Linked DNA regions of Homo sapiens: all the other regions are linked to region 5. Evidence: promoter capture Hi-C in 16 types of primary human blood cells and fetal thymus (Javierre and others, 2016). All regions are on one chromosome and are shown on one strand. The core of a region is centred on a gene start or on the middle of the fragment in contact, and the rest is flanking DNA. Distances in the headings are between cores, read along the strand shown.

The links. The method cuts DNA at HindIII sites, captures the fragments that hold promoters and counts their contacts. A CHiCAGO score of 5 or more calls a contact.
Region 1: a fragment that was not itself captured here is called in contact with the fragment with the promoter of CLYBL-AS2 in region 5 in 7 of 17 cell types (non-activated CD4 T cells, M1 macrophages, M0 macrophages and 4 more); the score reaches 6.2 in non-activated CD4 T cells.
Region 2: a contact is called between a fragment that was not itself captured here and the fragment with the promoter of CLYBL-AS2 in region 5, in 6 of 17 cell types (non-activated CD4 T cells, total CD8 T cells, activated CD4 T cells and 3 more). The highest score is 6.7, in non-activated CD4 T cells.
Region 3: a fragment that was not itself captured here is called in contact with the fragment with the promoter of CLYBL-AS2 in region 5 in 7 of 17 cell types (total CD8 T cells, naive CD8 T cells, megakaryocytes and 4 more); the score reaches 7.6 in total CD8 T cells.
Region 4: a contact is called between a fragment that was not itself captured here and the fragment with the promoter of CLYBL-AS2 in region 5, in 6 of 17 cell types (total CD4 T cells, total CD8 T cells, activated CD4 T cells and 3 more). The highest score is 6.0, in total CD4 T cells.
Region 6: a contact is called between a fragment that was not itself captured here and the fragment with the promoter of CLYBL-AS2 in region 5, in 5 of 17 cell types (non-activated CD4 T cells, activated CD4 T cells, total CD4 T cells and 2 more). The highest score is 7.3, in non-activated CD4 T cells.
Region 7: a contact is called between a fragment that was not itself captured here and the fragment with the promoter of CLYBL-AS2 in region 5, in 1 of 17 cell types (total CD4 T cells). The highest score is 6.1, in total CD4 T cells.

The regions. Positions count from the first base shown.
Region 1 is chr13:100,560,194-100,563,196 of GRCh38, forward strand. The region is part of intron 2 of GGACT (gamma-glutamylamine cyclotransferase); the gene reads right to left. Among named protein-coding and RNA genes, the nearest start is that of GGACT, 27 kb to the right of the region's middle. The HindIII fragment of the contact is 926 bases long and covers 1,006-1,931 here.
Region 2 is chr13:100,520,711-100,523,410 of GRCh38, forward strand. The region is part of intron 22 of PCCA (propionyl-CoA carboxylase subunit alpha); the gene reads left to right. Among named protein-coding and RNA genes, the nearest start is that of PCCA-AS1, 41 kb to the left of the region's middle. The HindIII fragment of the contact is 2,434 bases long and covers 135-2,568 here.
Region 3 is chr13:100,542,663-100,545,638 of GRCh38, forward strand. The region is part of intron 2 of GGACT (gamma-glutamylamine cyclotransferase); the gene reads right to left. Among named protein-coding and RNA genes, the nearest start is that of GGACT, 45 kb to the right of the region's middle. RefSeq lists enhancers at 224-403, 1,834-2,557, 2,558-2,976. The HindIII fragment of the contact is 3,006 bases long and covers 107-2,976 here.
Region 4 is chr13:100,249,563-100,252,567 of GRCh38, forward strand. All of the region lies in intron 8 of PCCA (propionyl-CoA carboxylase subunit alpha), which reads left to right. Among named protein-coding and RNA genes, the nearest start is that of PCCA, 160 kb to the left of the region's middle. The HindIII fragment of the contact is 865 bases long and covers 1,306-2,170 here.
Region 5 is chr13:99,689,381-99,692,354 of GRCh38, forward strand. CLYBL-AS2 (CLYBL antisense RNA 2) reads right to left here and starts at 1,591. Exons shown (of 2, transcript NR_046526.1): 1 at 1,173-1,591; 2 at 718-976. All of the region lies in intron 1 of CLYBL (citramalyl-CoA lyase), which reads left to right. LOC124903199 (a long non-coding RNA gene) reads left to right here. Exons shown (of 2, transcript XR_007063848.1): 2 at 1-989. RefSeq lists a silencer at 1,435-1,729 and an enhancer at 2,770-2,974. The HindIII fragment of the contact is 1,922 bases long and covers 1-1,835 here.
Region 6 is chr13:100,499,563-100,502,379 of GRCh38, forward strand. The region is part of intron 21 of PCCA (propionyl-CoA carboxylase subunit alpha); the gene reads left to right. Among named protein-coding and RNA genes, the nearest start is that of PCCA-AS1, 20 kb to the left of the region's middle. The HindIII fragment of the contact is 3,536 bases long and covers 1-2,817 here.
Region 7 is chr13:100,461,839-100,464,774 of GRCh38, forward strand. The region is part of intron 21 of PCCA (propionyl-CoA carboxylase subunit alpha); the gene reads left to right. It overlaps PCCA-AS1 (PCCA antisense RNA 1), which reads right to left. Exons shown (of 5, transcript NR_047686.1): 5 at 2,599-2,732. Among named protein-coding and RNA genes, the nearest start is that of PCCA-AS1, 18 kb to the right of the region's middle. The HindIII fragment of the contact is 4,063 bases long and covers 1-2,936 here.

The sequences.
Region 1 (3,003 bases), core at 219-2,718, 870 kb after region 5:
TTTATCAAGATTCGTTGACCCTTTAAAAAAACGCACTGAACTTTAAACAGTAAGTGAGTAAATTTTGTCTGTAAATCAAAAAAGCTGAATTATTTTGGGGAGAAGCCCTTCCTCAACAGCAGCATCTGAACAAAGTCCTTTGATCCCCCAGGATCTGACTCGCTTTTCTGCAGCGTGTTGCTGCTCCATAAACATTAAGCCTTTTCTTCTTTGCCACACAGGCCCGTCTGTTCCTCTCTCCTATTTGAGTGAATATGGCTAGAAGTCTCTTCATATTCTCCCTTCTTAGCCCTTTACCCAGGAGCTTAACTCAAGTCTACTTCCAGGGCCAACAGGGAATGGACAGGGAGTGAGCATCCGTGGGAGCTGTGTGGCCCTCCCAGGCCCTGAGGGCTGCGCTGGGAACGTGCCCTGTGGGCTTGTATCCATTGCTTTCACTGGGGCCACTCCTGGCTGAGGAGGGTTGCAGCTTTGCAGCTCTGCTGTCACTGAGCTCCACGCGATCCCTTTAGCCTCCCCAGGTTTTATTCTGGACATTTCCATTCCCTCACATAATCTAGCTTTGTTTTTCTGACTCTTGGCCAAGGTTTTTGGTGTCAGTGTGTTCCTAGGACATGGTGTCCTAAAGTACAACGGAGTGATTTTCTAAAGAACCAGGACACATGCTCTAGCAAGACGGATGTGTGGGGCAAAATATGGGTCAGAATCTTTGCAATTGTGAACATCTCTGACAGCCCAGGCTGCGCACCCCGCATCTCCTCCAGGGCCTGGGATAGTGGGCTGGTGGGCTGTCATTTCATCACAAGCACGCCTCCTAGACCACTCATCCACACAGCCCAGGAACACGTGCCTCTTCCCCCGGCTCCTGACTACATTCATGGTGAAGCTTGTGGCTACGCCCTCCTAAGTCTCATCAAGCAGCAATACCCCCGCCCCGGGCATTTTAACCTCTCCATTTCAGTATTTCCAGCTCCATTGCTATTATTTTACCAATGATTATCTACAAGCTTTCCTTGAACGTTGTGTTATATTTCATTTTGGTTATCATTTTCTGGTATAAGCAACACTTCCATATTAGGAACAGCCCCAGAGAGCTGCTTACATCTGACTTGGTAATGGTGGTGAACTGTATGGTATGTGAATTATTTCTCAATAAAGCATTAAAATAATGCAATTCTGTATAGATCCATAGCAAACAAAAATAACACTGAAATGGTTTCTATCATAAAGTTAATAGTTGATGGATGAAGATGGTAAGCCCTGCCTCCTGCCTCTTCACCCCGATTTTGAGCTATCTTAATGCAGTGTCTTCCCACAGAAGGCTTTCCTGGACATGTGGCCTTGTCTTACCTGGGGCTATTAACACCAGGATGAGATTCTGAAATGTGCAGTGCTGGCTAAACACCCAGCAAGTGGTACTGGTTCCCTTCTCAGATCAAGAGAATGCTATCTTCAGAAGATGTGTGCAGCAGACATTCCTGTACTTAGAAGAACCCAGCAGTGGGAGGGCCCGGGATGCCCTTCACACCTCCAACCCAGGACCCTGGAGGGGCAGAGGTGCTGCTCAGTGGGGGGCTGGGGCTCACGACCTTGGCAAATGACTGAACCTCTCATCCTGGATCTCCTTCTCTGTCCAGTGAGACCCTGGCACTTCCCAGAGTGGGGGAGTGGGATCCCCTGGGAGTATACAAGTGCCCAGCATGGGTGGGTTCAAGCAATGACAGTTGTTTTGAATGAAATAAAACAAATAGGAAATCATTAACTCTGCTCAAAGGTCATGCGGCAGAGTCTGCATGCCCCGGAGGAGGCTGTGCCCAACAGTGGGTTCGAAAGGACCAGATTCCAGGCAGCTCCTGGGTGACTCACTTTGCCTCACTGGGGTTTAGGTGCCTCTAAATAGGGACAGAAACTCTTACCTTGCCTACCTCGCAAGCTTCAACCTAAAGCTCAAATTACTGGAAGTACACAGAAGTTGTGAAATTTTATTCTTCTATAAAACGGCAAGCCCCTGTCCACTGCCTGTGTGGACCCCGACAGAAACTACCCTAGATATTCTCTACAACTAAGCTCGGTGAAGGGCTAAGACTTGATTTCCATTTTCATAAATACACCTTAGTTTTGCACAGAAAAAAAAATTTTTCCTTGCACAAACACCATTTTCTTCAAACCTGGCACCAGCAAGGATCATGCCTGGCACCTCACGCAGTACCTGTGATTCACCAAATATACTTCACCCACCTTCACAGCACTCAGAGGACACTGGGACAGACAGCACAGGCAACTCACCCAAAGTCACACCACTGGTAAGAGAGGCACATGAGGCCAGGTGTGGTGGCTCACGCCTGTAATTCCAACACTTTGGGAGGCCAAGGCAGGCAGATCACCTGAGGTCACGAGTTTGAGACCAGCCCAGCCAACATAGTAAAACCCCGTCTCTACTAAAAATACAAAAATTAGCCAGGCATGGTGGTGCATGCCGGTAATCCCAGCTACTTGGGAGGCTGAGGCACGAGAATCACTTGAACCCAGGAGGCGGAGGTTGCAGTGAGCTGAGATCACGCGACTGCACTCCAGCCTGGGCAACACAGCGAGACAATGTCTCAAAAAAAAAAAAAGAAAAAAAAGAAAAGAAAAAAGAAAAGGCACAGCCTTAAACTTGGGTGGTTTCTTGACTCCAGAGTTCAAACTCCTAACAACCCCAAAAAAAGAGCTCCCGTTCCCCTGCCTGGGCCCCCACTGCCATGTGCTAAAAAAGAAAGCAAGTCAAAGCGTTACTTGCCTTGAATTGCAAGCAGACTCCACACAATCTTACTTATATAAATCAAGCCAAGCAGAGGCTTCCAGAGAAACCAACCCTGCCGGCCCCTGATCTTGGACTTCTGAACCACTAGAACTGTGAGAAAGTTCTGTTGTTGAAGCCACCCGGTCTGTGGCACTTGGTTGTAGCAACCCTAGTGAATGAATGCACTGATGGATGCTGCCCCACGATCAATCTGCAAATAT
Region 2 (2,700 bases), core at 102-2,601, 830 kb after region 5:
GAAAAAGATGAGGAGGTAAAAAAATATCTATTAGTACTGGGAATTTTTACAGTTGAATATACTCAATGATAATTATAAAATAAAAAATATTTATGTGGATCAGTATATTAAATATTATAGGAGAGTCTTCTCCAAGCTTGGCGTTTGATTTTTCAGGAGTGATCTGCTTGGGAGTAGAAGGTGTTTTCTTTGTTTTCAACATTTTTATAAGTGACCATTCTCAGCCTTACCAAGATGTAAACTATCTTTTTCTCTTTTAATAAAAATAAAAGTTTACAAAAAATCATCCTTTCACGGAGCGCTTTCAGGCAGCATGCTTTACGAAGGTAGAGGGTCCAGGCTAATTTCCAAAGGTATTGTGAATGACATCAGTTTCCACTAGTTCTCTTTGTAACTGCAGGCTTTGGCTCTGATTTTGAGCTAACTTAGAGGGCAGCAGGGAGTCATATTTTTCTTCATTTTAAGGAATTTTAAAAGAAACTGGACTTGTTTTATATCGGCCACAAGTCTGTACTCTTACCCTTAGCCCCTTGGGTGCTGCCCAGTTCTGGGGAGCCCCACTTGAGAGACAAGGGGAGCACCAGGCAGACGGCACGTGTGCCTGAAGTCCCGAGCCGGCAGCGGGGCTGGACGGGTGGCCCCTGGGTTCCCGCGCCCTCCAGAGTGAGGCCGCTCGTGCATGGGCCATTAAAGGAGTCTTCAGCCGGAGAAAGGGCTGGGCGGCGTCTCCTGCCCGCCTGGTCTGTCTTTGTAATTTGATGATGGTTCCATCCTTGCTCAAATACTGCAGTCTCCCGTGGCCTCCTCCCCGTCTCGCTTTACATGAAGATGTTGGGATGTGAATACACGTTTCTTCTTCAGGAAATATCAGGGGATATTTACCAGCCTATCTTACCGGCTCAGAGGAAGTTGCTATTAATATAATCAGATGCGAGCAGGCAGTGCCTTTTCACTCAATCTGAGATGCCTTTTTTTGTGACTGTTAACTGAACCTTTCTTCAGATCTAAGGGCCTTAAAATGTGTGGCATTCAGGCACCTGTGTTCCAAGCAGACCAGCCTTTAACAATGAAATGGTGGGATTTTCACTTTTGTGGCGTAGACACCAGGGCTGATATTGATCCGTGTTTTTCCGGTGGTCCGGCGTTGCAGAAGTGGAAACTGCAGCGGGCTGGTAAGCCCTCCGAGCCTTCTGTCTAATTTGGCAGAAAAACACAGAATGTAGGACAACAAAAGAAGCCTCCTTTTTCCATAAAAATTCTTCCTCCCACCCACCCTTCTTCCCCAAAAAGGGGACTTAATTTTTCAGCTGCACGCAGTGATTTGGTGCTCACTCTTGCATCGAAACAGTTGCGGTCTGAACAGGCAGGAAACAGTTTTCTTTTAATTGCCGAAATCATTCGGAAGTGCTTCATGCCCTGCTTCTGTACAGCAGATGCTGTGCATTAATTGGCCTGCGTAGAAGTGACCCAGGGTTCCTTGCAGCGGGCCCAATTTTAGGCAGAGGGTTTAAATAGCTTATTTATTATTTTGTATAATCTGGCGTACATTGTGTGCTCCTGCACGTGTCGTATTTCATGGTCTGCAGTTTCTAATGTCATGTGGGTTTCAAAACCTGTGTTTCTCTGGTAATGTACTAGCAGCAGGTAAGCTCAAAATACCATCCATCAGGAGCTAATTTTTTATCCAGATACTCCAATGACTGATGAACCTGTCTTTTGTATGAATGTTTAGCACAGTGGAAAGCCATATGCCACTGGCACCGTTTCCTCTGCATTCCTTACAGTTGCTAGAGAGTGGGCTTCCTGGGGGGCGGGGCGGCTCGATGCTGTGAACGTCCCCTGGCCTCTATTTCAACGATAACACCTTTAAAACAGCCCTGGGTTTGGGCAACAAAAAGAGGATGGGCTGTCTTAAAGGAGACCTGACTCCCTCGTCATTTTCTTTATCAGAAATACGACTGCACACTCTTAATAGGGAACCTTGTTTTGTTACTCCCCGTCTGTTCCAAACAGACCTCAGCCCATTAGAAGGGCCTCCCTTGTGTGGGAGACCACAGCTGTTACTGTAAATCTCATCCACTCACTGTATCACCCCCATTTTGTGGCTCTGAAGGATGAAATTGAGAAATGGAATACTGTGCAGTCATCCTTTACATCTCCAATTTTAGGCCTTTGCCATCATTTTCATGCTTTTATTCCAAATCAAATAACATTAGTGAGCTACACCACCTTCTGATGAATATCTGGTCTTGAGCACCGCTTTCAAGCCTGTGCTTGTGGGGGCTTCCTTTTATGTTTGGTGGTCTTTTTTCCCCCGTTCTCTTCTTTTTCTTCCTGCACTTTCTTTGAGCGTTCTTCGTGGTCATGGCAGTCTGCAGTTTGAATGATCGGCATTGCCAAATGTGTCCCTGTCTTAGCATGTTTTCTGAGAGGGGGCATGTGCGGGAGAAGGTTCTCTGTCTTTTAATCTTTGTGGAAGGAGTGAAGAGAACTTGGTAGAAGGATATTGGGGGCTTTAATCAGAAATAAGAAGTGGTTTAAATCATTAGCACAACAAAGCATACTATAAGCTTGAAGATAAAAGTCTCTGGGGAAAGAGTCCTCTGAAAATAAATGGAACTTGATAGATTTCCATATCATTTATAACTTCCCTTAATTACACTTGGAAGACTTGCCAGTAAAACTGGAAAATTGGCAGCC
Region 3 (2,976 bases), core at 360-2,859, 850 kb after region 5:
ATCCAAGAGGCCAAAGCTGAACCTCTGTCCCAAAGCTAACTGGTCCGGACAATAGCGGCATCCAGGGGACAGCATGGAGGTGGAACAGGCTCAGAGAGTCTCCAAAAGCTTTAGATCAGCAAAATCTGGTTTCCCATTGCCAATATTTGAGAAAATAAGAAGACTCATGAGCTGTCCATCTGGTCGGGCGCTGCCTGAAATGCCTGTCACTTATTCAGCAGTTCTCCTTCTTGAAACGCAGTCCGTCTATAGTTTCATATTTCACCACTGAAGCAGAACTTGAAAGTGATTACGAGTCCTTTGCATAACTGTTAGATTTTTTTCTTGATTTCTTTTTTCTTAGCCACCTGGTGGCAAGAGTGTAAAAGGCAGGATTTAAGAGTTTATGATGATAGTTTACAAATCACAACCACTTCATATGCCTGGTACACGTTTAAAAGCATGCATACGCAGACCAGGTGAACCGAACAAGGAAAGGGCTAGTGTTTAACTCTTCTTAAACTAATTTACAAAAGGATTTTAAAAAGACACCAGCTTTTTTTTTTTTTTTTTTTTTTTTTTTTGAGACGGAGTGTCGCTCTGTCACCCAGGCTGGAGTGCAGTGGCGCGATCTCGGCTCACTGCAACCTCCGCCTCCCAGGTTCAAGCAGTTCTCCTGCCTCAGCCTCCTGAGTAGCTGGGACTATAGGTGCCCACCACCACGCCTGGCTAATTTTTGTATTTTTAGTAGAGATGGGGTTTCACCATATTGGCCAGGCTGGTCTCAAACTCTTGACCTTGTGATCCGCCCACCTCGGCCTCCCAAAGTGCTAGATTGCAGGCATGAGCCAGCACGCCTGGCCAACACCAGCTTCTAACATAAAAACCACCTTTATAAATGGTGCCTCAAGAAAATATTCATCTTTATATGAAAATTTCATGACAGGAGGAAATGTTAGTAAAATCTGTATGTCATCATGTCAAAGCATCTGTTTTCTCCACATGATATATCAAGCCAGTAACAATGCATACTGCCAGTTGGCAAGTTAAGACTTTGTTAGAAAAAAGTAAAATGATTTAGACTTGGGTAGCATGAAGCTCAGGCCCCTGCCAGAGGGGCTCTGCCACTGGCCAGGGAGAAATAGTATCAGAATCATAAACTCCTGGTCCAGAAGGTGGCATGGCAAAGAGCTTATCTCTATCTTTACATTTGCTGCATTAATTTGCTTTTGTCATTCAATACCTCGTGTCAAAATTGGCCCCAGCAGATCCTGGGCCCACCAGACTCACGAAGGGCATGGTGATCACGGCTGTACACTGGTTTCAAGGACACCAACTGCTGCTCTAGTCCTTCTGTGACCACCAGCAGCCCCACACTGTGCCAGCCCTGAGCAAACGCAGCCATTCTACATGGTGGAGATGGAGTAAGAGTCACATGCGATGTTGTGCACGTTTCCCCTAGAGAGGGTTTTTCTTACTTTATGGAAACCTTCTTGTGTCTCATCAAGTAGCCACTTCCCCTCCCTCCCCCACTGTAACATTATTTTCCCTGGAGAAAACGCCGAGTGTCTGATATAGTTACACATTAATTCTTCAGAAGTTTCTTAGAACTGTAGGAAACAGGTGAAAAAACAAAATGCCTTGAACTTTCAACCTGTGCCTGGCCTGTGTGCGCGAGGCGGGCCCTAAGGTCACTCTTCCCCGCGCGGCTCGGGGCAACGTGCCAGGGAGGGCTCGGGCCGCATCCTGTTGGCTCTTTGATGCTTTCGTTTTGTCGCTTGCTAGTTTCTTTACAGCAAAGGCAAGGGCTTCCTGCTAAGGCAGACCCCTCACCAGCCCCACTGCATACCCCGGAAAAGTCCCTGGCAAAACACCTTTCTTCCATTATCTGCACCGGCCCCGGTAAAACGCTGGCGCCTTTGAAATCAGAGGCCAGGGTCTCCTCTTCACAGTTCGCTCAAGACACTGAACACTTACGGGTCTGTGAAATCAAACGGACACTTGGTCCCTGATGCCACCCCAGGCCTCCTGAATGCTCCTCAGCAACCATCCCTTGAGTTTTTACTCTTTGGCCATGCCAAATATAAATAACGATTTTTTTCATGCCATATCACTTTAAAGGCAATTGTGTTGCCACCTTTAAAATGTTCAGTGACCAACAACGCAGACATGACCATCCCCTGCATCCCCATGTCTGCTTCAAGTATGGAAAGGAATCACTGGAAAATCCCAAGATGCCAGGCCAGGGAACGAGCTCTATGCAAACAGGCAGGATGGAGAACCGGCCAGGGCCATGGCCCCAAATTCCAGGCACGGCAGCAGGAGCGGAGGTGCTGCCAGCCCCTGCTGCCTCCTGGTGTGACACTCAGAAGGCGCAGCGGAGGCGGCAGCAGGAGGCAGAGCCAGGAACACATGCTGGGCAGGCGGCCAGCGGCCCAACACTGGAGATGCCGTCAACCTCGTCACACAGGGCCAACCTGCAGGCACGGCCTCAGGAACCTGGCTCCACTTGCCGGACCTACCTGTGGCTCACGGGGGATCAACGCCACCCCCAAGGGAGAGCCCTGACTCCATGCCCACCCCATGCCAAGTGCTTTACTTACATTCTTCACCTGGTGCTCCAAACCACATGGTGAGGCCGCTTCACTCCCAGCTTCTCCCCCCTTTTGCAGATGGGGAAGCTGGGGCAGAGGTGAAGTGACTCACACACAAGGCGACCCAGGCAAGGGCAGCAGAGCCTTCACGTCCCTTCCTGACCTCCTTCCTGACCTCCACGTCCCAGGGCCCCTGGAGGAGGGCACCCCCTCACTGCCCCCAAGCACTCCAGGGCCCCAGGCAGCCAGTGGCCTGGGCTGCCCTCATACCAGGCTCCAGTCACATCTGCCGTGGCCTCCTGAATCTAGAAGGTGCCCTCAGGGTTTATTAAGCACACCCTGGGCTGCCTGCCTGCCTGGCATGTGCCATGGAACTGGCACTCAGAAGCTGCCACTATCCTGA
Region 4 (3,005 bases), core at 488-2,987, 560 kb after region 5:
CTTTTCCTTTCCATATAAACTTTAGAATCAGTTTGTGGATATCTACAAAATAAATTGCTAGGACTTTGATTTTAATTGTGTTCAACCTATAGATCACGTTGAGGAGGATTGATATCTTAACAATATTGAATCTTCCTATCCATGTACATTGATTATCTCTACATTTAGATTTTCATCCATTTCTTTCGTCAGAGTTTTGTAGTTTTCCTCATAGATACACTGTATGTATTTTAAGATTCATGCCTATTTTATTTCTTTAGTGCTAATGTAAATGTCACTATTTTAATTTCAAATTCCAGTTGTTCACTGCTGGTATATAGGAATGTGATAATCTTTTGTATATTAATTTGTATTCTGTAACCTTACTATAATTGCTTATCAGTTCCAAGAATTTTGTTGTTATTGCTGATTTTTTTGGAATTCCTTCATAGACAGTCATCTTATCCACTAGTGAAGACAGTTCTATTTATTCCTTTCCAGTCTGTTTACTCTTTATTTCCTTTTCTTAACATACTTCATAAGCTGGAATCTGCAGTCAGATGTTGAATAAGAGTTGTAAGAGGGGACATTCTTGTATTTTTCCTGATTTTTGGGAGAAGGCATCCAGTTTCTTGTCATTAAGTGTAATGTTAACTGTAGGCTTTTTGTGTATATTCTTTATCAAGTACAAGAAATTTCTCTTTATTCCTAGTTTGCTAAACTCAGTGATTGTTGATTTTTGTTAAATGCTTTTTCTGCATCTATTTATATGATCATAGGATTTTTCTTCTTTAGCCTGTTAATGTGATGGATTACATTAATTGATTTTTGGATGTTGAATCAGCTTTGCATACCAGGATTAAATCCCATTTGGTCATGGTATATAATTCTTTTTATATATTATTGGATTTTTTAGTCATTTTAATATCTAAAAACTTAATTTTAAAATGTTTGCTTTTTTCTTATTTATCTCATCATGTTTATTTTTTTCTCCAAATCATTTTACCTGTTTGTAATAGCTGTAACTTATAATAGTATTTGTAACAACTGTTTTAAGAGTCTTCATTTCTGGGTTTCTTTCTGTCAGCTATTTTCCTTCTGATATGAATCACATTTTGCATCTTTACCTATCTCTTAATTGTTGATTGGATTCTAGACATTGTAAATGTTACATTGTGTGTTTGGATTTTGTTACCTTTATTTAAAAGGTATAGATGTTTAGTCTGGCAGGTACATTAATTTTGTTTAGGTTAAGGCCTTTTAGGCTTTAAAAAAGTTTTCTTAGGGCAAGTCTAGCATAGTCCTTTCTCGTGTTCTGATTAAACAAGCTTGTATTATGCTGTCTCTCTACCCGTCACACTTCCTGTCCTTTGGTTCATAATTTCTATTTCATTATACGTCTATGGTTTTTTCGTAGTATAATGTAAACCCATGAAAGATGTAGGCAGGAGAGAGATATAATAGTATATATACCTTAAGAAAATTTCACTGACCACTATGTGGCTTGGATGGGGGCAACTGTAGTAGTGGGGAGTTCTGCTAGTAGGCCAGTACAAGAGTCCTGGACTGCTGGTAGTTTGTGTAAGTATTATGATTAAGTATTATGATAACTGAGATAAAGAAAAGTGAATAGATTTGATCTTTTTAAATAAAGAATTTATAAGAGTTTCATACTATCCAGCAGTTGTGCTCTTACACATAGATCCAGGAAGCTCATATACAAAGTTCCAGACAACAAGTACAAAAATATTCAAAGGACCATTGTTATATAAATAGAACAGGTTACAGTCTGAATGTTCATTCACAGTGGAATGGATAATGCTGCAGTATGTTTGTAGGTGACATAGATTACAGCAGTAAAAATAATGACTTACAGCTGCTCAGATTAACTAATAGATTTACTTAGTAACTCTTACTTTGCATGTTATTCTTTAGGCAGTTTCAGCCACTGCAGAAACAACAAAGAAGACAGGCAAAGATCTTTGTCTTTATGTTTTTTTAATCATTGTGCAGTGAACAATGTAGATATTGACTAAAGCAAGAATCATTAAAGTTCATTTTTAATAATGGGTGAAAATTGTTTGGATATAGGATCATCACAGTTTCAAAGTATCAATCTACAGATTATTTGCTAAGAAAAAATGGCATACTTTCTGTGAGGAAATTTAATGGATGCCATCTTAAGTAATCAAGCTTTATCAGTTTGGGATAAATTGACTTTTTATTTTACTTTTGATGCGATGGAAGAACTCGAGGATACAATATCAACTATGTTGTATTTAAGATTTGTTAAACATCTTGAATTTAATGAGTGAATAATCAGGTATATTCAAATTGTGGAATATTCTATCAAACAACCACCCTGGGTTCTTCAGAAATATCATGGTCATGAAGAACTCCCCCCGCCATCAGCACAAAACAACAAACACAAACCCACACTTTCCCTTCTGGGGAGGCTGAGGGGGTTCAAAAGGCAAGTGAACTACTTTACATTAGAGGAGCACAAAGAAACGAAACAAAGCAATGCGTACTATCTATGTAATTCTCATGAGCAACTTTCATCTGGGGATTTCCTTCCTTTCTGTCCTAGTTCTTTCTCGGAGTGGGGTGTCTTTTCTCTTCTGAGGTCCTATTACCCATATCAGGGCCTATTCTATCCATCTAGAGGACTGTTCAACTTCCTGAAATATCTTTTGTTTTCTTTTTACCTTGGACCTTTCCTTGAGGAAACAAAGGCCTTGTAGTTAATTATAGGTGTTTTGCAATTGGTTATTTAAAGAAGATCCCCATTCCCCATCACATCTCCTTGATTCATGAGAGATTTCTGATTAGTACCGCTGGATTAGGAATAAGACATTTTCTAAGAAATACTTTTCTTTTCCCTTCTTTTTATTTTTCCTTTCCCATTAGTATATTCTATGAAATTTTAATTCAAGAAATTGTAGGTGAGAAAACCACATAAGATTCTTTATTATACAGCGTACCACTGTTGCATCAATAGGGTGTCATTTTATCAGCTTTTAAGT
Region 5 (2,974 bases), core at 341-2,840:
TTGTCCCAGAGAAAATAATCTGGCTCTAACTTCTCTTGTTATCAGTGAAAAGCAAAAATTACTTAGTGCAGGTATGCTTAAAGGAAGAAAAAGGCAAGAGAAAAGTGAGAGGTAAAAATTATTACCATTTTAATTCCATGATTCTCAGCAATGAAGGAGCATGATTGAAATCCCATGTGCCCAGTCATATCTGTAAATGAGAGTATGATTTTTGAAGACTGTATTCAATTGTTTCAACTTGAGCAATTGCAAGTAAGACTTAGGACTGTGTTTACCAGTTACTGTTATTTACTATTACTTTCTAAATGTGACCTGACTTGAAACCTTTATAGATGCAATTTTTATCCATCACAGAACAAGCTCTAAAGAGGAGAGCAGCTTCAACTTTTTCAAGTATTTTTTTTAAAAGGATTTAACTTTGACCAACACCAAACTTGCATCTTGTTAAGGTAACTAATAACTGACTGCTATAACAATATTTAGAATTTTGTTTAACAGCAACTGTCAAAAAAACAAGTTAAAATAGCCCAGGAGATGGATGGCGATTAACTCTGCGTTCTTTTTAGACTGTGTTATTAATTAGCTCTCTAGACTCAAATAGGTTACATCCTCTGAGCAGTAAATTGCATGCCATTTGCAAGCTCTGTGGATGAAATTTACATGTGGCCTAAATGCTATCCACATTGTTTTGTTAAGTAGCATTTTATCTCTCTGGACTGGTCCCTTGCCTCCTCCCCCAGCCCCAGTGGAAAGTTTTATTCACTTTTCTTGCGGGAAGGGAAAGTCGCATGTAGTTTGGTCATTTGGCGCCATCTTCTTTTTTATTGTTAAATCCACTAAAGGCAGTCATGCCTGGCAGTACCAGGCGGGCTCCTTCCGGGGTTCTGGTCGGCTAAGCATTCAGAGTTCTTTGCTTTTTATTTACTAGAAATGTTTTCAGCTTCTGTCTTTGCTTTAAGATCTGATTAAAAGGAACCTTAAAAAAGGAACATAGATTTTGGTGTATGTTTTTCCTCTCTACTTCTCTTCCCTGTGCCCCCCAAACCCAATCACCAACTTCCCCCATCCCCAGCAAACACGGGCTTTTTTGTGTATTTATTTAAAAGCATTTTAGGAAGCACCGTAATACCGCACAGCTTGGAGGTTAAGATAGAATTGGATGTTTCCCTCACCATCAGTTGATGGAATCATCAGTGTTCCGGTTCTATTTATCTTCATGATTTGAGAATGTTTCTGAACAGCTGCCCTTCCGAGGATGCTGGTATTTAGACAGACCTTCCTGTCATTTATCTGACTCACAGGCACAACTCTTTTGAAAGAATTAATATCAAACTTACATATGAAAATCTACCATTTAGAAATGGATTCTTTTTCAGTACCTACTTTTCAATTCAACCGGGGAGATCCCATCTATTTTAAAAAATCATTAATCACATACTTCTGACATTTTCCCTTTCAGTTTCCTCAGGGGGAAAAAAGTTATTTGAATAACAAACAAACAAACAAAAACCCCTCATCGCAAATAGCTGTCAGCCTCCTATGTGAACAAAAGCGCTCTCTCACACTGAGACCTACCGTGTTTTGTTTAGTTAGAGGCAGCAGGGTGGTAGGGACACTATGCAGAAAGGCTTGGGTTAATGAGCACTTTCTGGATTGAGTGTCTCTCCTGATTAACCCTTGGATTACTTGCTTTGAGTTGCTAACCCTCTCTCACTGCCCACTCAAGAATTTCCCACATGGTAGCCTCATCCATAGATGCCCTTCCCTAGATGCACTGATGGTAGACAGCATAAAAATGTGTAAGCACTGTAGCTTTCCAATGAACTGAAACAAAAAGCTTAAGCATTACTTTTTATTTCCTTGATCTAAAGAACATGTTTTGGGGGATATTTTCTTAATCAATATCTAAGTTATCTAGAGTTATAAATACTATAAATAAATTAGTTACAAACTAATTTTTAGACACAAGTCTTTTGTTCAAACCAACTCTTACATAGAAACTCTAAAAATTTGGGGGGGAAGGGGACAGTTGGGGATCAGAATCACTCCCCATTATCTCTCTGTTGGTGCTCCCCAAAGGATCTTCAGGGAACGACGTTTAAAAACCATTTTGTATCATGAAATGGGACCCGAAAGACATTCTTTCTAGTGACTTTGTGTTAGATTGAGTCATATGAAATTGCCACTGTGTGACCCATTTTGACCTAAAAAAAAAACCAAAAAACAAAAAACAAAAAACCAGCACTAGGGTACCAGAGTATTTTTAGTGTAATCACTGTACGTGATAAGAAAATGGAGAAATGAGAAAGCTTGAAACTTAGACTATAAGCTCCTCATAAGCTAATAGCGACTTCCTCCCTTCTTCCGCAGTCACCTGGCAAGTCCCTTCTATGTGCTGCTGGTTCTAGGGATACAGAGATAAAAGGCGTAGTCACTGCCTCCAAATCATCACAGTGCAAAGGACAAATAAATACAGAAGGACCCATGGGATGAAGAAACAGCCCAGGGTGGTGGGAACACAGAGCGAGAGTTTCTAGGATCTTGAAAGCCATGTTGCACGGAGCTCCCGGTCCCTGAGTTTTCAGACTGATCTTTCTGTGGACTGTGCCTAAGTAATAACAGTTTCAGAACGTAGAAACTCAGTGTACATCCTTCATAGCCAGGATGGATATGATAGCCTGGAAGTGAACAGTAAATCCAGTGATTTGTTTTCTTCACTCATTCTTTCATTTTAAGAAAGTGCTTAGAATCCACAAGTTGTGCTTAATGCCAGCAGACGCATTACATATGCCAGCCCTGCCCCTTAGTCACAATTACTCCCCACACTGACCTCCCATTGCATTTAAAAATTGTCGCTTTATTGAGACATAGTTCAGCTCTCATAAAGTTCACATTTGTTTTTTTTGTTTTTTTTTTTTTGTTTGTTTTTTTGAGACAGTCTTGCTCAGTCACCCAGGCTGGAGTGCAGTGGCAT
Region 6 (2,817 bases), core at 37-2,536, 810 kb after region 5:
AGTGTCTTATTAAGGCGGTTCCAGCCTTTCATATCCTGCCTCCTTGGGATAAAGAGTGTTTGTTTACAGAGCTTCTGGGATAGACTGCTGCATGCTGCATCCGTACCTCTGTTGCAGAAGCACATCTGTCCCATTATGTCTAGTGACAAAAATAAGACCTACGCCTCAGTGAACTTTGCATACATCTGAATGTAAGCAAGACAAGTATATTTGACATTTTAAAAAGGTTTTTTCTTTCACAGTTTTCAAAATAACATAGGAGAAGCAAAGGAAAAAATATTTCTTGTGTTTCTAATTCACAGGTTGCTTGAGACTTTTTTTGGAGGTGCTAGCATTTTATTGGCCACAGTTTTGAAGGAAAATACAATGAAATCATGCTTCTGTCGTTTGGGGAAAAGGAATAACAGATTCATTTTTTCTTTTTTTAAAGATGAGAGAGATAGTATTTGGAATCTATCTTTAGACTATTCTACCTCTGAATCTAATTGAAGTAAGAAATTGGGCAAGAATGGAATCTTACTTACCACCCAGGAAAAAAGCTAAACAATTGTGGCTCAGTCCATTTTCCCCTGAGACTGTCTTCAGATTGAGGCGATCAGTGTTAAAATGGATGGAATCACCAGGCTCTCCACATTCTAGTAAGATTGTAGTACGGTTGAAAGTCAAATGAAAGTCCAGCTCTTCAGTGTGTCATTTCCTCTTGCAGACACCAGACCAAGGGCAGTGGTGGTCTGGCGCTTATATTTTGTTATTATTTGTTGAGACCAGAACTCTCCTTAAGGATATATTTATATATGTTTTAATATTAAAGTTTCTTTTCAAGGAATTTATACTAATTAGTTCATGTAATAATAACATGTGCATTCCATTTAAAGTTACCTTGCTAAATTTTCTAAGACTTGTTAGCTTCCCCATAGTTTTTAATAAACCAAAAGATCAAACGAACAGTCCCCAGTTGCCCAAATATTGAGCAGTTAAGGCTGGTTTCAGCTCATCTGAAATCTGTAAACATTTAAAGAGAACCTCTCTCCCAGAAGATAGTGAGCACGGTGGTATTCTCCAGTCTCAGAATATTAAGGTTACTTACAGACTAGAGAGGCCTTCAGTCTATATTAACGAGTTCCTTTCCTAATCTCACCCTTCTAAGAATATATTTGATCCAATTTAGGGACAGCAACATTGAGGCCAGAGAAAAATTAATGGGGTAGTAACTGTAGACACCAAAACACTCCCCAAATCTTGAGACATCAAATAAGCAAGACTGAATTTATGCAAAAGATACTTTAAAGATGTTTCTTTAGCTGGGCGCAGTGGCTCACGCCTGTAATCCCAGCACTTTGGGAGGCCGAGGCGGGTAGATCACAAGGTCACGAGTTTGAGACCAGCCTGGCCAATATGGTGAAACCCCGTTTCTACTAAAAATACAAAAATTAGCCGGGTGTGGTGGTGGGTGCCTGTAGTCCCAGCTACTCGGGAGGCTGAGGCAGGACAATTGCTTGAACCTGGGAGGCGGAGGTTGCAGTGAGCCAAGATCGCCAAGATCATGCCACTGCATTCCAACCTGAGCAACAGAGTGAGACTCTTAAAAAAAAGAAAAAATGTGTCACTCAGAGATTTTTCTACCTAGAACAAGAGTCATACATACTTTTTGAAATTATTTTATCTATGTAAACTTACGAGGTACAAGTGTAAATTTGTGACATGCATAGATTGAATAGAGAGGAAGTCAAGGCTTTTAGATATTCATCACCTGACTAATGTACATGGTACCCATTAAGTAATTTCTCATCATCCACCCTCCTCCCACCCCGTCACCCTTCTGAGTCTCCATTGTCTACTATCAGAAAAGCCTTCTCCAGCAGCGCATTGTCAGCTGAGTCTAGGAGAAGAAAGCCTTCTCATGGACATGAGCTAAATTCCCTGGGAAAGGCCATTCCATAATGGAGAAGGCCTTCTGTTCACCCACAGTGTGGTCCTCAGACCAGCAGCTTCAGCGTCTCCTGGGAACTCACTAGAAATGCAGACCCCAGGCCCAGTGTGGCAGCTCACGCCTGTAATCCCAGCACTTTGGGAGGCCGAGGCGGGTGGCTCACGAGGTCAGGAGTTTGAGGCCAGCCTGGCCAACATAGTGAAACCCCGTCTCTACTAAAAATACAAAAAAATTAGCCGGGCATGGTGGCGCATACCTGTAATCCCAGCTACTTGGGAGGCTGAGGCAGGAAAATCACTTGAACCCGGGTGGCGGAGGTTGGGCTGAGCTGAGATCGTGCCGCTGCACTCCAGCCTGGGCAACAGAGGGACACTCCTTCTCAATAAATAAATAAATAAATAAATAAATAAAATGCACCCAAACCTGAATTGGAAACTCAGGTGGGGGGCCTAGCGGTCTGTGGTTTTACTAGCCCTCCAGGCAAGTTTTGATGCTTTGGTGATTGAGAACTGCTGCTTATGCTGTCTTGGTGGAGAGCACTTCAGCCAGTGCCTCTTCTGCTGATTCTGTATTTATCAAAGAACCACTGACTATAATTTAGTGCTCACACTACAGTTAGGAGGTGTGTGAGTTCCCTTTACAAACCTATTTCTGATTGTAAATTCCTAAGATGTTTTACACATCAGTATCTTGTGAGCTTGATAAAAGTGAATCCATCTCGTTCAGAGTGATGCATTATGAGTGTATAGTGGAAGTCTAGCTTCTAAGCCTGTGAAACAGAGGCCCAGCCCCCTGATCCAGGCAGATTTCACTAAGGTAGAGGCCAGGGTAGATGTCCCTGCTGAACGGGCACCCTCTCATCCCACCTCACCCTGGCTGTGTGTACT
Region 7 (2,936 bases), core at 198-2,697, 770 kb after region 5:
CCCACTTTCTCTGGAGGGGAAAAGAGAAACGGATAGAAAGTATCTGGCATAGAAACCAGAGCCTTTCTAGTCTGTTTACCCTCAACTCCACAGGGCTTCCTCCCTGCTCGGTCACACTCTTTGTATTCCTGACCCTTTTCTAGTCCAACAATAGGAAGCAGGTGGCGGTCACAGAGCAGACACTTTGTGGAGGGGTGATGAAGTTTTCTGATGTTCAGATATATTTTACAGTGCTAAGAAAATCTATAGCATTCCTTCCTGCATTTGCCCCTAAATATACAAAATTTCAGGCAAAATATGGGTAGAATAAGATTTTATGAAATGGAATATAAATGTAGTCTTAATCTTGAACATTGTTTCTGTGGTAATGTGTGTTCTGTGTGCCATGTAACCAAGCTAAGAATGAACTTTTGGAATATAACTACGTTTTTATTCTTTTGAAATTGGCATGCTCTATATAATATAAAAGTTTGGTTATTAGTATTGCAGTGTGATGCATTCTGAACAAAAATTTAAAAGAAATCATTGCCTGCCTGCTATACTATGTGCTAGGAAGTGGGTTAGTTGAACATGACTTGGTCCCTACCCTTAAGTAGCACACTGGCTGGTGAAGACAGACAAACTGATACCATGCAAACATGGTATCAGTGCTGAGATGGGTAATGCATAGGCTTATATAGTAGCAGAGCGAATTGTAGATCTGTTAGCTTTATTATTTGTTTCTTTTATTGATAAACAGTACAGTCCATAGGGCGTAGGTCTCTGGTTAAGAATTTGCATTTTATTTGTCAAGTACACCTCAATAAACACAGGGAAAAGAAGAACTGTATTTCATATCTTATTAGACATTACTTTTTGAAAATGAGCACAAAACCTAGCATTTAATGGTAGTCATGAGAGTCAGTCAGTCATCTTACACTGGTGACAGACACTGAATTCTGGCAATTCAAAGGAAACAAATATCCCTGCAGTCATTGGGCCCATTGTCACCTAAGGATAGAGAAATGTAAATGACTGATTACCGTGATAAGAACGCTAACAGAGGTGTATACGAAGTAGAGGGATTCTGGGGCTGAGGTGAAGAAAGTGGAGAAATTGTGAACAGTTTTTCAGTGTTTATAGCTCATGCTGTGACTTTAAGGATGAATTGAGTTTGCAGGAGAAGGCATTTCAGATAGAGGGAACAGTGAGCCTGGAGATAGCAGGTTGTAGAAACTGCACTCTGTACTGATGATGGAGAAAGAGGACGGAATGAAATTAATAAAGGCGCAGAGGTATTAAGATGTCCCAAGTGTTTAAGGAAGAGCAGATTGGCTTATGAGGGTGATGGGCAGGGCAACAAAGATCCCTTTGGAAGATGAAATTAGTCTGTTGGGGGCAAGATGACACAAGACCATTCCAAGGAGGTTGGGTGGCATTCCCTAGATTCTGAGGTTCATTGAAGGAGTTGAAAGAAGAATCATAATCTCATCAGAGGTGGTTGGTTTTATTGGTGTGGTTTTTTTTTTTTTTTTTTTTTTTGACAACTTATGGGAGTAGGCAAAGAAAGAAGAGGGTACATTTGAGAGCCACTTCTTTAGAATCCAGTGTACAATTCTATGTATTGGGCAGAATTGAAGATAATTCTGAGATTTCTAGAGGTGATAACTGATGCAGTTAGGGAGGAAAAACAGGAAGAAGAGAAGAATTGTACCAGAGAAAAGGTGGACTCTATTAAAAAGATGGATTTAACCAATTTAAGTTTGAAATGCCAAGAGACATCTATGATATAAGGGAAATTTCTGGTCTGGAGAGCAAGAAGAAGATTAAGAGTGAGCACGTAAGTTGATGCCCCAGCAGAGGTGAGGTCCTAAGCCATGCAGTAGATGAACCTGCCAAAGGGACAATGGCAAAGCAGAGGCCAGGCCCAGAATGGAGCTCCAGGAAATGCCCACAGCTAAGGTGGAGGCTTGTCCTCTCTAATGGAGTCACTTACAAAATGATGACATGTTTATTATTGAAATCATTTATATATACTATTAGAAGCCAGTTCATTGTAACCTCAGTTATGATTTCACAGTATCCTAGGGTATCACTAAGTTATTTCAAAGTATCTCAGGATCTGTTGCCACCTGCCAAAGATCTTCAAAGTAAAATTAATATTTATAAATAATGCCTTACGCGTGTATGGTGCTTTAGGGCTTTAGAATGATTCTACATATGTCAGCTTACTTGATTCCATTCAATTGCTAAGATGAATAAGCCATAGCACACCTTAGAGTGAGTGGTAAAAATTAGACATGGAATACTTCTTGCAGTGTTTTCCATTTAAAATATTTGAGATTACAAGTTATGTGTTCACAGGAAATTACCACGAACCACTGCCAGATTGCTAGTGAACAGGATCGGGCAGGGGTGGGGGAGGAATAAGTAGAGTTTGTCTTCCTGCATTTGAATCGCAGATCACCTGTCTCTTAGCTTTGTGAATTTGAACAGGTTGCCTAACCTCCCTGGTCCTCAATTTTTTCATCAACAGAATAGATATTATCTGCTTTTATGGAGATGGCAAGGGCTGAAAAAGAAAACGTTTGTAAAATGCCTGAAAATAGCAGGCACTTGGCAAAGAATAGCTCGGTTTTTATTGTAGCTCCCCACTCTCCCTTTGCTTCATTTTCCCTTTCATTTGTCTTGCTTGGAGACATGCTATCATCTGAAGTGATAGTCTCCACCGAGTCTTCAATTTGGTGCTTGGCCTACAGAAAAATCCAGAGGGAAAATATTGTTCCCTTTTATTTGAAAAACCAAATTTGTGTTAATCCCCTGGTTATGACCCCTTAACATAGTTAATGTTTTGTAAGTGAATATGGAATAGAAAGCACATACTTAAATGTGTACCTTGTGGTGGCAGGGTGCTTAAAAACATCTGTTTCCTTGAAGAATCTTGCGAATCACCAACA